Linked DNA regions of Homo sapiens: all the other regions are linked to region 4. Evidence: promoter capture Hi-C in 16 types of primary human blood cells and fetal thymus (Javierre and others, 2016). All regions are on one chromosome and are shown on one strand. The core of a region is centred on a gene start or on the middle of the fragment in contact, and the rest is flanking DNA. Distances in the headings are between cores, read along the strand shown.

Region 1 (2,700 bases), core at 90-2,589, 390 kb after region 4:
TTTCTCCAAAATTCACTTGTCATCTGGGCACTAAGACATCCCTGTACACAAAGTGTGACTCTACTGACGTTTCATCAATTTCCACAATATAAATATGCTAAAAAAATTTAACAAATGGGGGAAAAGCCAAGACCCAGGATAAAGGATTTAATCCAGTATTTATTCCACACTCATGATGGTTCTGTAATCAGAATACAAGTTGTAAGAACAATCTATCAAATAATTTGCTGATAGTCTTAAATAATGCAGCACAGCATTACTTTTAATACTCCTCTGTTCTAGATTAAGTTTAAAAACTCAAACAGCAATCTCCATTATCAATAAAAAAAGTTCTGAATTTTAAAAAAAGGACACTATATCAAGCTGTTTCATAATTTAAGGATTTTCCATTTATAAAAATGCTTTGGAAGCTTGAGGCTTGAATCTGTTTCTCTACTCATCTGCCCCACCCTCTCCCCATTACATGTTAGTATAGGGTTCTGCAAGAATGCTAGGCTTTAGACATTAATTTTTTTCTTTAATATAGTACTTTAAAATCTGAGAAAGAATTCAAGAAAAAAAGATTACATGTCATGTATTTTTTCAAATAAAAAAGGAAAACTAAGTGAATAAATTTTAGGCATACTAAGTGTCCCTTTGAGGTAGAATGCTAAAAGGACTTTTGATGAAATCACAGCCTAAAAACCTCTGCATCAGAAACTAACTTCTCATAAATTCTCTCTAAAGGTAACTGTGGAGAATATTAAGTGTAACATATTAACAAGAGCCTTCCAAGATAATATACAGTAGACAAGAATGTTAATCCTACAATGCTGCCTTCTTGTACATTGGCAGCACATACTTCTCCTATAATAGACATCCAAGATCCATTCTCAAAGTCTTTAGCATTCTATTACGAAAAGCACAGCCATGCTAACTTCAGTACACAAACCATAATCCCACACCTACAAAACAAAAATAGATTAGTGGCAGTTTATTGCCTTATACAAATTTAACCAACATGGCAACCATGCCAAAGGAATTAAAACATTTTCAGGACATATGTACAGACTGTACATTTCAAAAACAAACAATAAAAATGCAAGAACAATCTGTGCATCATGTATCAAACTTAACAATTGGGTGAAAACACCAATGCAATAAATGGAATTACAAAGGCACTTCCCTACACGAAAGAGGAAATGAAAATGCAGCCTACAGGGAGAGCTTGAGGAGTGCGAACTACTGCACAATCTCAACGTGGGGGAAAAAAGCAGATTTAATCATTTATAGGATTCAATGTGATCCACTTTTACAAAATATTTTCACACAGTCTCATCTTTGTTTTTATGCTGTTTTTCTTGGCTCTCTTGTTCTATACTTTGGCTCCTTCGACGATCATGTTTGTCTGACTGGTCCTTACTATCACTGTGATCTCGTTTGTGGGAACGTTCTTTGCTTCTACTACGCTTTCTAGATTTTTCTTTGCTGGGACTATGTTCCCGTTTTTTTGATTTTTCAACACTGTCAGTTCTTCCTTGACTGCCACTTCGACTTCGTTTATTTGATTTTTCTTTACTTTCATTTTTATGTTTACTTGATTTCTCTTTGCTTCTACTTCTACTTCGTTTCCCTGCATTTCTACTTCGACTCCTACTTCTGTGTTTCCTTTCTCTGCTTCTGCTTCTACTGTGTTTTTTCTCTTTCTTGGAATCTCTTTTGTCATCTCTGTGCCGCCTATCATCTTTGTCTTCTTTATGTTTCTTCTCTTCTACCTCTCCCCTACTTCTCTGTTCCTTGGACCTTTCTCTTGATCGCTCTCTCTCTTTTTCTCGTTCATTTCCTCTTTCCTTATCATAGTCACGATCTCGTCTTCTACCTCTCTCATTTTCTTTCTCTCTTTCTCGATCCCTGTCCCTTCTATCCCCTTTCCTATCACGACTTCGACTGCGACTTCTATGCCTTTCCCTACTTCTGCTGCGCCTGCGTTCTAACCCCCGGTCAATACTTCGGGATCTTCGCCGTTCTTTCTCCCTTTCTTTGGCTTCACGCTCTAGTCGCTGGCGTTCTTTCTCTCTTTCTAATTCTCTGTCAAAACTAGAAGACCCATGGCCCTCCCGATGATGACTTCTACTTCTTGACCTTCTTGGGGACCTCCGTGGACTCAGAGATCTCCTTGGAGACCTAAGGAAGGCGGAGGGAGAAAGAAAATTTCAATGAATAAAACATATGCAATTCTTTTCACAGTAAAACTTTCAACAGCATTATTTATTCATGTCCTCAAGCTTAAGGCCATGTCAAGAATCATTAAAGCAAAAAATTTTATTGTTCTCATTTACAGATGCATAATTTTATAGAAAAAGCCCTGAAAGGAAGAAAATAATCTTTGGGGGGTAAAAGTGACAAACTAATAAAATGAACAGTAAAAACAAATTCCTAAGAACTTGCTATTTCTCAGAACCATTAATTTTGTATAAAGCATATATGAAAAATAAGCATAATTCAAGAGTGACATTACCTTGAACGTCTGCGTTCAACATGTCTGTCTATTTCCTCAGCACCTTCCTTCCCATCTTTCTTGATTTTTCTAGGTCGGGTTTTAATCTGTTGATCAATATTCTTTTGAACTGGAACTGGAATTCTTGGAAACAAGGTAGAAAACCACTCCAGTTTTGTGAGAAAAGATCGTAGCATTTCTCCAATGGTCATTACACAGCCTCC
Region 2 (2,700 bases), core at 162-2,661, 310 kb before region 4:
AGCTACTGTTTCCAGCCATGTGTTTAATTTTAAAAATTGAAGAAAAAAGACACTATGAGGAAATGACATGTAAAACACAAATCTTTTGAGGCAAATGTGAAGTGGCACCTATTGCTCAGTATTGCCCAAAACTGTGGGACATGATCAACAGAGAGAATGGAAAACCTAGTCATGATAGTTAAATTTGAAATTAACCATCTTCTGACCCTAGTTTTTTATTGTTGTTGTTGCTTTTAAATGTAAATATAATCTGGATTTCCAGTTATTACTGATATCTTCAGCAGTCACAACTGGTTTCCTATGCCAGTGTTAATGAAATCTTTTCTTGGCCAGTTCTTTTAAAAAAACGTAACAGGCCAGGTGCAGTAGCTCACATCTGTAATCCTAGCACTTTGGGAAGCTGAGGTGGGCAGATCACCTGAGGTTGGGAGTTCGAGACCAGCCTGACCAACATGGAGAATCGCCGTCTCTACTAAAAATACAAAATTAGCCGGGTGTGGTGGCGCATGTCTGTAATCCCAGCTACTCGAGAGGCTGAGGCAGGAGAATCGCTTGAACCCGGGAGGCGGAGGTTGCGGTGAGCCTAGATCACGCCATTGCACTCCAGCCTGAACAACAAGAGCGAAACTCCATCTCAAAACAAAACCAAAAACAAACAAAAAAAACTTTTTTGTTAAGTTTTGCCACATAAACAATTTTAGAGAAAATACCTGACAATAGTTAATGATTATTTGTTGTAGGCAATAATGGTCTAAGCACTTTATATATATTAACATTTAATCCTCACAACTACTCTATGAATTAGCTATTCTTATTGTCCTCATTGTACAGATGAAGAAATAGAGGCACAGAGTGGCCAAGTAACCTCAAGTCACACACACAAGCTCAACTTTTAAGTATTTAAATATACTTCAAATATATTTCTAAAGGAGTCTTTAACAGAAAAAAGTACTGACTCCATGTACTTTGCTGCTGCTTTTGTGATCCCTGTTGAAGTGACTTCAAGAAGTGACAATGATGCCAGGCATTTGGTTAAGTATGATGTGGTGAGTTAACCTTAAAATAGAAAATTTGGTCAATAAGCATTTTTATTTTGGAGCCAGAGAGCTATTTTAGGGACCTGCTGCCTGGAAAGGATATCCTTGGGACAGCAGATCCCTTAGTTCCTAATGAATAGCTGCATCACCAACACAGCTTCTCCTGACCATGGTAGGGCCATCAGCAGGGTAACTCAGCCCAGCTTATTAACCCTTCTGTTTTCTTTCCAGCTAGCCACAGTGCAGCCTGGCCAGAATTTCCACATGTTCACAAAGGAAGAACTTGAAGAGGTTATCAAGGACATTTAAGGAATCCTGATCCTCAGAACTTCTCTGGGACAATTTCAGTTCTAATAATGTCCTTAAATTTTATTTCCAGCTCCTGTTCCTTGGAAAATCTCCATTGTATGTGCATTTTTTAAATGATGTCTGTACATAAAGGCAGTTCTGAAATAAAGAAAATTTTAAAATATTTGTTAATAGACTGTTCTCTTCTAATAGTCTTTTTTTTTTTTTTTTTTTTAAGAGATGAGGTCTCACTATATTGCCCAGGCTGGTTTCAAACTCCTGGGTTCAAGTGATCTTCCCGCCTCTGCCTCCTGAAGTGCTAGGATTATAGGCGAGAGCCACTGTGCCCAGCCATTGTAATACAGTCTTTTGTTTGAAATGCAAATGTTAGTGGGCCAAAAGGACAGTGTTATTAATATCCCTATTCTATGAAGATGTCTGTTCTAAAACTGTTTTAGTGATGCTCTATAACAGAATCAACTATATCCATTAATCCCATGGTGTTGATAAATGAACTAGTCCAGCTCTTCCCAGTGGTTAATAGATGTTAACAGCACTGTAAATCCATTTCGGCCCTATAATTTCTGGAGCAAACGTGTATTTTTGCTGCTTTTCTTATAAGGAGATGCTACTAATTGACTATCAGAAGAACATGTTTTGAGGTCCTCCTCAAAACATTGATGGGTTGGAATCAGCCATCAACAGTGTTGTACCAGTTCTTGGGTCTTGATAGACAATTTGGAAAGAGATTTCCTTGTTTACGAAGTGAAGGACTAAGAATTAAATTAATGACCTTGGCCTCACTGGCAATCAATTACAAATCTCTATATCAGTAAGAGAATTGTAAAATTCAGAAGCAGTTTACATTAGACTTTGGAATGAATGATGAACTTTCCCCATTAGAGCTGCCATCATATGATTGGTGGAGATTGTTTAAAGAATCATTCTATCTCAGCCTCAAAAATTACCACGGGAAGATGGTATCAGTATCACTACTTAACAGATGAAGAATCTAATGCTGTGTGCCCATGGACACACAAAATTAAGCTGTTGGGACTTGAACAGCTCAAATTTTCTTGTTTCAGATCACCAGCTCTTGAGTAATAGGGAAATCTGGAGATTTGAAAAGTACTTGCACTGTCCACAACATGGCTAATCCATATGTGGATGATGCAGAATTGATTTAATTCACTAACAGGGACCCCATAATTATTTGCTGGGCTCTGGGTATATTGATGTGTAGGAAGTTGTACTATATGTTAATAAATTATGACTATTTGGATAGGCTGAATTCATACTAAATCCATACTGTAGTTCAACAAAAAACAACATGTTTATATACATTTGGAAACTGCAATGATAGGAAACATTTGGA
Region 3 (2,700 bases), core at 100-2,599, 450 kb before region 4:
TGAGTCTAAACAGGGAATTCAGGCATGATCCCCTACTCCAGAGCCTGCTTCCCTGAGACTTGCCTATCTAGGGACTCCTTCTGCCTCTAAGAAGGAAAAAGGGAATTCTGGAATTGTTTACCAGACCCAACCCAAAGAGCCATAAGAACAATGAGTTACCCAAGGACCTCACTGGGACAAGTTGGCTGCCCCAAGCCCCAGGTCAAAAACAAAGAGGCCACTGACAAACCAAGAGCCGATGCAGCAAGTGCCGCTGTCACCAGCCACCACTTTTTGAGCTGTTATGAGTGCCAGGCCCTTTACATACAGTTTCTTTGATCCCCACACCAATCTATGAGGCAGCCATGACTTGCCCTATTTTATAAGTGAGGAACCGGGTGCTGGAGGAGAAGTGACTTTCCCCAAATCACACAGCTAATAAGTGCAAGAGCTGATATTTGAACCCAGATCTGTTTGAAGTCCAAGTATTTCCTCCTCCTTCTCCCTTCGTTCCGTGGCCTCTCCAGTGGCCTGACACAAGACTGTGGACTACAGCCCTAAAAGCTATCTTCATAGAAGTAGTCACTGCCTTCCAGAAAGCCTAAAACAGACCTCAAAATTAGGCATACCTGCGTACAAGAAATTCAAATGGAAATACCAAATTGAAAACCTGTAGACAGCAAAGTGATTTTTAGGAAGCCCTGTGCTGTTGTGTTGGCAAGATTAATTTGGCATCAAGCAGATTGTCTGGGATTAGGTAAAGCCTGTCCCTGCTCAGCACCCACATTCTTCCTGCAGGGCCCCAGCCCAGACTGGCATGGCCCCTTCCGAGGGATTCAATAAGAACTGGAGCAGACCTGGGCCCACTGGAACAGGATTTTAGAAAGAGCGCTAGACTGGAGTCAGAAAACCTTGGTTCCAGTTTGGCGCCATTCTATTGGTTGGTGGTAAGACCTTGGCCTGTGAGTTGGCTGTCTGTGAAAATGGGCAAAATTCTTCACTTCCAAGCTTATCTAATAGTGGTAGGGAGCCTGCAAAACAAACATAGCCTGCCTCTCCAGCTTCAGGGAGCTAGCACAGGTAATCACAGCTCATGTGGTGGCCAGCAGGCAAGGCGTCCGTGTCCTGAAGCCCCTCCCAGAGAGCTATTGGGAAAGGCAGTACCAAAGAGGCAGCATGTTCCAGCTGTTGGAACCATCTTGGCTCAGGAGGTCGGCGGGGGAACTGCTTATTCTAGCCTGTGGGCAAATAATAAATAATAATAATAATCATGCTGGCTGGGCACAGTGGCTCACGCCTGTAATTCCAGCACTTTGGGAGGCTGAGGCGGGCAGATGATTTGAGATCAGGAGTTCAAGACCAGCCTGGCCAACATGGCGAAACCCCGTCTCTACTAAAAATACAAAAATTAGCTAGGCATGGTGACACATGCCTGTAATCCCAGCTACTCAGGAGGCTGAGGCAGGAGAATCGCTTGAACCCAGGAGGTGGAGGTTGCAGTGATCTGAGATCGCACCATTGCACTCCAGCCTGGGCAATAAGAGTGAGACTCTGTCTCAAAAAATAATAATAATAAATAATAATAATAATAATGCTACTAGTTCTTGAAGGCCCACTTTGGGAGGCACTTCTTATGCTGTATCTTATTAAATGATCTCAGTCAGGGTGTGGAGTAGCTACTGACAGCACACCCCCAACCCCACCTGCCAGTCCCTCCTTTTAGTAAAGCTTAGCACAATGGAGGGGGCAAGAAGACCAAGATGGAGAAACTGAGTGTGATCCCCCAAACCACATAAGAGATCCATGGCTCACTATGCTGTGCACACACCCAGGAAGGGAATCCTGTTACAGGACGGGGACCAGGCCCTGTTTCCAACAGTGGCACCCCTTCCCTTGGTATCATGGCAGGGCCCTTGCTGCTGAGGACTGATCTTTGCATCCTAGACTTGCTCCCTGGTACAGTTTTACCCAACCCTTGTGCACCAGCACCTCGTGACAGGGTCGTGTCTGCCCATCCACCCTTTTCTGCCCCAGGATGAGACCTGGAAGCCAATCAAGTTTATCTTTCATTCATCCATCCACTTCTTCAATAAACATTGAAGACTTCTTATGTTGCCACTGCCCCCTCCCTAGAGCCCCTTGCCTGCTCAGTGGCACCCACTACCCTCCTTCTCTGCCTTGTGTCAGAATCTGCTCTCAGGAAAGAGGTTGATAAACCCATTTGCACTGATAGCAACTTAATGTGTTCTTTCCCAGGAATATTAACAATTTAACAGGGAACAAAGAGAAGAAGCAGAACGTTGGGATTCCAGCATCGACCAGGGATGTCCCTGAGATCCCACAACATAGACTGCCTGTCAGCCGCCTACTCCCTAGCCAGGCCTCCCCCGCCAAGCTGCTGGCATTGTGTCCTCTTGGCATCCACCTCCATCCGCATGGGCACCCAACCCCCCCGCCCCTGCCAACCAGACAGCAGGCTTACAGCTGGGACCTCCACACCACAGCTCAGTTCCTGGCTTCCTGGGGCCCCCCTGTACCAGCACCAGCCATGCCTGCTTTCCAAGCACTCACCTCACCCTGCCCAGCATCTGGGAGCCAGGCCAAGGGGCTGAGGAGGGAGGCAGAGGAAAGCAGAGGTGAGAGCCCTTCCATTCTCTTTATTCCCCCACTGTCTGGCCTACACCCCCTGCCAGGAGCTGAGATCCAATGGTATATTCAGCC
Region 4 (2,700 bases), core at 153-2,652:
CAACATAGAAAGCTTTAACTTCTTAGCTCTGTTTCTTAAATACATAAACCAAGCTTATTTCTTGTACAGGGAAGCACAATGAATCACCTAATTGCAAAAAACAAGAAGATATTGGACCACAAAATGGGGGAAGAATGACTAAAATTTATTCAGCAACTACCGTGTCAAACTGCTGTCTTACTTCCTGGTTCAGATTCTGTCTTCCTCTGGGTAAATTCCCTTTTCTTACTGTGCCTAGTATCCTGAGACCTCTGACTTCCCAGGAAGCTCCAAATGAATATTATATATAACCAGTGTCTGCCAGTTCTAGATCACACTACCTCTCTTCCTCCAGTAAAACTGTCTCACAGCTAAGCTGTCACTAAGAAAGGGTCCAGCAAATTAATACATACACTAAGGTTTTCTGAGGAACTATACCTTCACGTGCTACCCCTTTTCTCTCATAAGTTTCTGCAGACAATGCCAAAATTCACAAGGAGGTTAAATTCGAGTCTTCAGTGCCAGGTCTATGGACAAAGTACTTTTGAGAAATGCTTTCCGGAGCCCCTCAAATCATCGTAATGCCTAAAAGGCTTTCTCTTCTCCTTTCCTGTAAGGTTGACACTAAAAATCATGAAGGCCCTCCTTCCTGTCCTCCTCTGGAATTCAGAATTCATAAAGTGTTTGAAGAGGCCTGGAAAATTAGGTCAGATAAACTGCCTCATCATCTAGAAGAGGCAGTGTCTAAATCCACCCTTTGCAACACTAGTCAGGGTCTCCACGTGGGATCACCCCGCCAGGACTTTAAAATCAGAAATCTTTCCGGTATTTTTCCGTAAGAAGAAGCTTTTGTGGGGTCTACATTCACCAGCAACCCCAAAAGTGTGGGACTTGATATTCTATGTCATTTATTGGCCCTCTCAACAAAACTACGGTCCGAAAGCATGAGAACGCAGGGAGCTGGGAGGAGGAGCCTCTCTCTTCCCCGGGTTTAAATAGCAGTAGTACCTCTGGGACTGACCTCTCCAAGGGCCAGAAAGAACTAAGAAAAAGAAAAGGGAAAGCAAAGCATAGGGATAGATAACTCGAGGTGTGAGCATAAGAGGCACTGGGGGTCCTAGATGAATATGGGAAGGGGGAACCCGTAGAGGAGTATAGGGGTACAGAAGTTAGGGGCGTCGAGAGGCCAAGGGGGGCCGGGCTGGGAGGGGGCGGGGAGAACGGCCACGTCAGTCCCGGCCCCGCCCGCCACGTTTTCCCTTCGTCCTTCACTCCCACCCTCCGCTCAGGGCATCAGTTCTCACCGTTCGTCATGGCGGCTGGCCCTGGACCTGGGTAGGGGGTCCGGGTTCAGTGGTAATAGCGGCGGAGATGGGGGAGCGCCCGCTTGACACTTCCCGATCCGGGCCGAGGTGACTGGAAGAAGCCGTAGTACGCAGGAGCAAGGGCCGAGAGGCGAGCGCCGAACGCTATCAGGAGTGGCTAGCCGATTGTCGAGCTCGGGAAACTGCGTGTTTACGTAGGGTAAGAAGAACGCTATCTCGAAGGCTTCGTACTTGGCCGTGGTAACTAAGTCTTTTCTGCGTGCCCCTGCGGGCGTAGGGCTGGGGCTGGCCCGCGTCAGTGTGTTTGAAAAGGTAAAGGCTTGTAGTTTTGTAGTTTATTTTGCGCCGTGGCGGCTGCTGTGTGTAAGCAGCAGCCTACCTATGAGGTTTTCATCGTCCTGGGCTTCCACTTGAGAGAACTCCAGCACCGCGGGTGAAGAAGCCGCACCTGCGGCCTCCGTGACTGCCCTTGAGCTGCTCTTCCTTACTCCGGATGGAAATCTAGTCAGACTGCGTCTGAACGTTGCAAATGAAATGAGGAACCTTGTAACAAAAACAAGTCGCGGCCGGGCGCGGTGGTTCACGCCTGTAATCCCAGCACTTTGGGAGGCCGAGCCAGGCGGATCACCTGAGGTCGGAGTTCGAGACCAGCCTGACCAACAAGGAGAAACCCCGTCTCTACTAAACATACAAAATTAGCCGGGCGCGGTGGCTCATGCCTGTAATCTAAGCACTTTAGGAGGCCGAGGCAGGCGGATCACCTGAGATCGTAGTTCGAGACCAGCCTGACCAACATGGAGAAACCCCGTCTCTACTACAAATACAAAATTAGCCGGGCATGGTGGCTCATGCCTGTAATGTAATCCCAGCTACTCGGGAGGCCGAGGCAGGAGAATCGCTTGAACCTGGGAGGCGGAGGTTGCGGTGAGCCGAGATCGCGCCATTGCACTCCAGCCTGGGCAACAAGAGCGGAAACTCCGTCTCAAAAACAACAACAACAACAACAACAACAACAAAAACCAAGTCGCATCTTTCAGATCCTAAAGCACCACGTCGTCGGAAAACATTCAAAGGGTTGCCCGTTTGCTTGTGTGAATTTTTCTTTTCCTTAAACTATCAGGAGAATCTCGATTCTCCTGCATTTAATTAATGCTGGGATCACTTCAGCCACTTTAACCAGAAATCGGCGATATCTAGACACCGCTTCTCTGAGGACACTTTGACAACGTGACAAAAGACATTGCCAGTCTAATGATGGGGGTGGGGTGGAGGAGACAAAAGTACAGATTCAGATTTGCATACTGAAATCCTTAATTGCACACAACTCGGCCCGCTTTATTAGAGTTCGGGCGGAAGTGCGACACCGAGTCCTCCAAGGCTAACTGGAGGGTTAAAT

Evidence for each region. The method cuts DNA at HindIII sites, captures the fragments that hold promoters and counts their contacts. A CHiCAGO score of 5 or more calls a contact.
Region 1: a contact is called between a fragment that was not itself captured here and the fragment with the promoter of TMEM167B in region 4, in 2 of 17 cell types (naive CD8 T cells and non-activated CD4 T cells). The highest score is 6.1, in naive CD8 T cells.
Region 2: a contact is called between a fragment that was not itself captured here and the fragment with the promoter of TMEM167B in region 4, in 2 of 17 cell types (endothelial precursors and megakaryocytes). The highest score is 6.2, in endothelial precursors.
Region 3: a contact is called between a fragment that was not itself captured here and the fragment with the promoter of TMEM167B in region 4, in 1 of 17 cell types (endothelial precursors). The highest score is 5.5, in endothelial precursors.

The regions. Positions count from the first base shown.
Region 1 is chr1:108,698,625-108,701,324 of GRCh38, reverse strand. PRPF38B (pre-mRNA processing factor 38B) reads right to left here. Exons shown (of 6, transcript NM_018061.4): 5 at 2,498-2,700; 6 at 1-2,163. The coding sequence ends at 1,305. Among named protein-coding and RNA genes, the nearest start is that of PRPF38B, 7.7 kb to the right of the region's middle. The HindIII fragment of the contact is 1,854 bases long and covers 413-2,266 here.
Region 2 is chr1:109,400,659-109,403,358 of GRCh38, reverse strand. It overlaps PSMA5 (proteasome 20S subunit alpha 5), which reads left to right. Exons shown (of 9, transcript NM_002790.4): 9 at 1,269-2,700. The coding sequence ends at 1,346. Among named protein-coding and RNA genes, the nearest start is that of SORT1, 4.1 kb to the right of the region's middle. The HindIII fragment of the contact is 3,839 bases long and covers 1-2,700 here.
Region 3 is chr1:109,536,099-109,538,798 of GRCh38, reverse strand. No RefSeq gene overlaps it. Among named protein-coding and RNA genes, the nearest start is that of GPR61, 2.4 kb to the left of the region's middle. The HindIII fragment of the contact is 720 bases long and covers 990-1,709 here.
Region 4 is chr1:109,089,466-109,092,165 of GRCh38, reverse strand. TMEM167B (transmembrane protein 167B) reads right to left here and starts at 1,402. Exons shown (of 3, transcript NM_020141.4): 1 at 1,284-1,402. The coding sequence starts at 1,293. RefSeq lists an enhancer at 1,569-1,768. The HindIII fragment of the contact is 3,338 bases long and covers 828-2,700 here.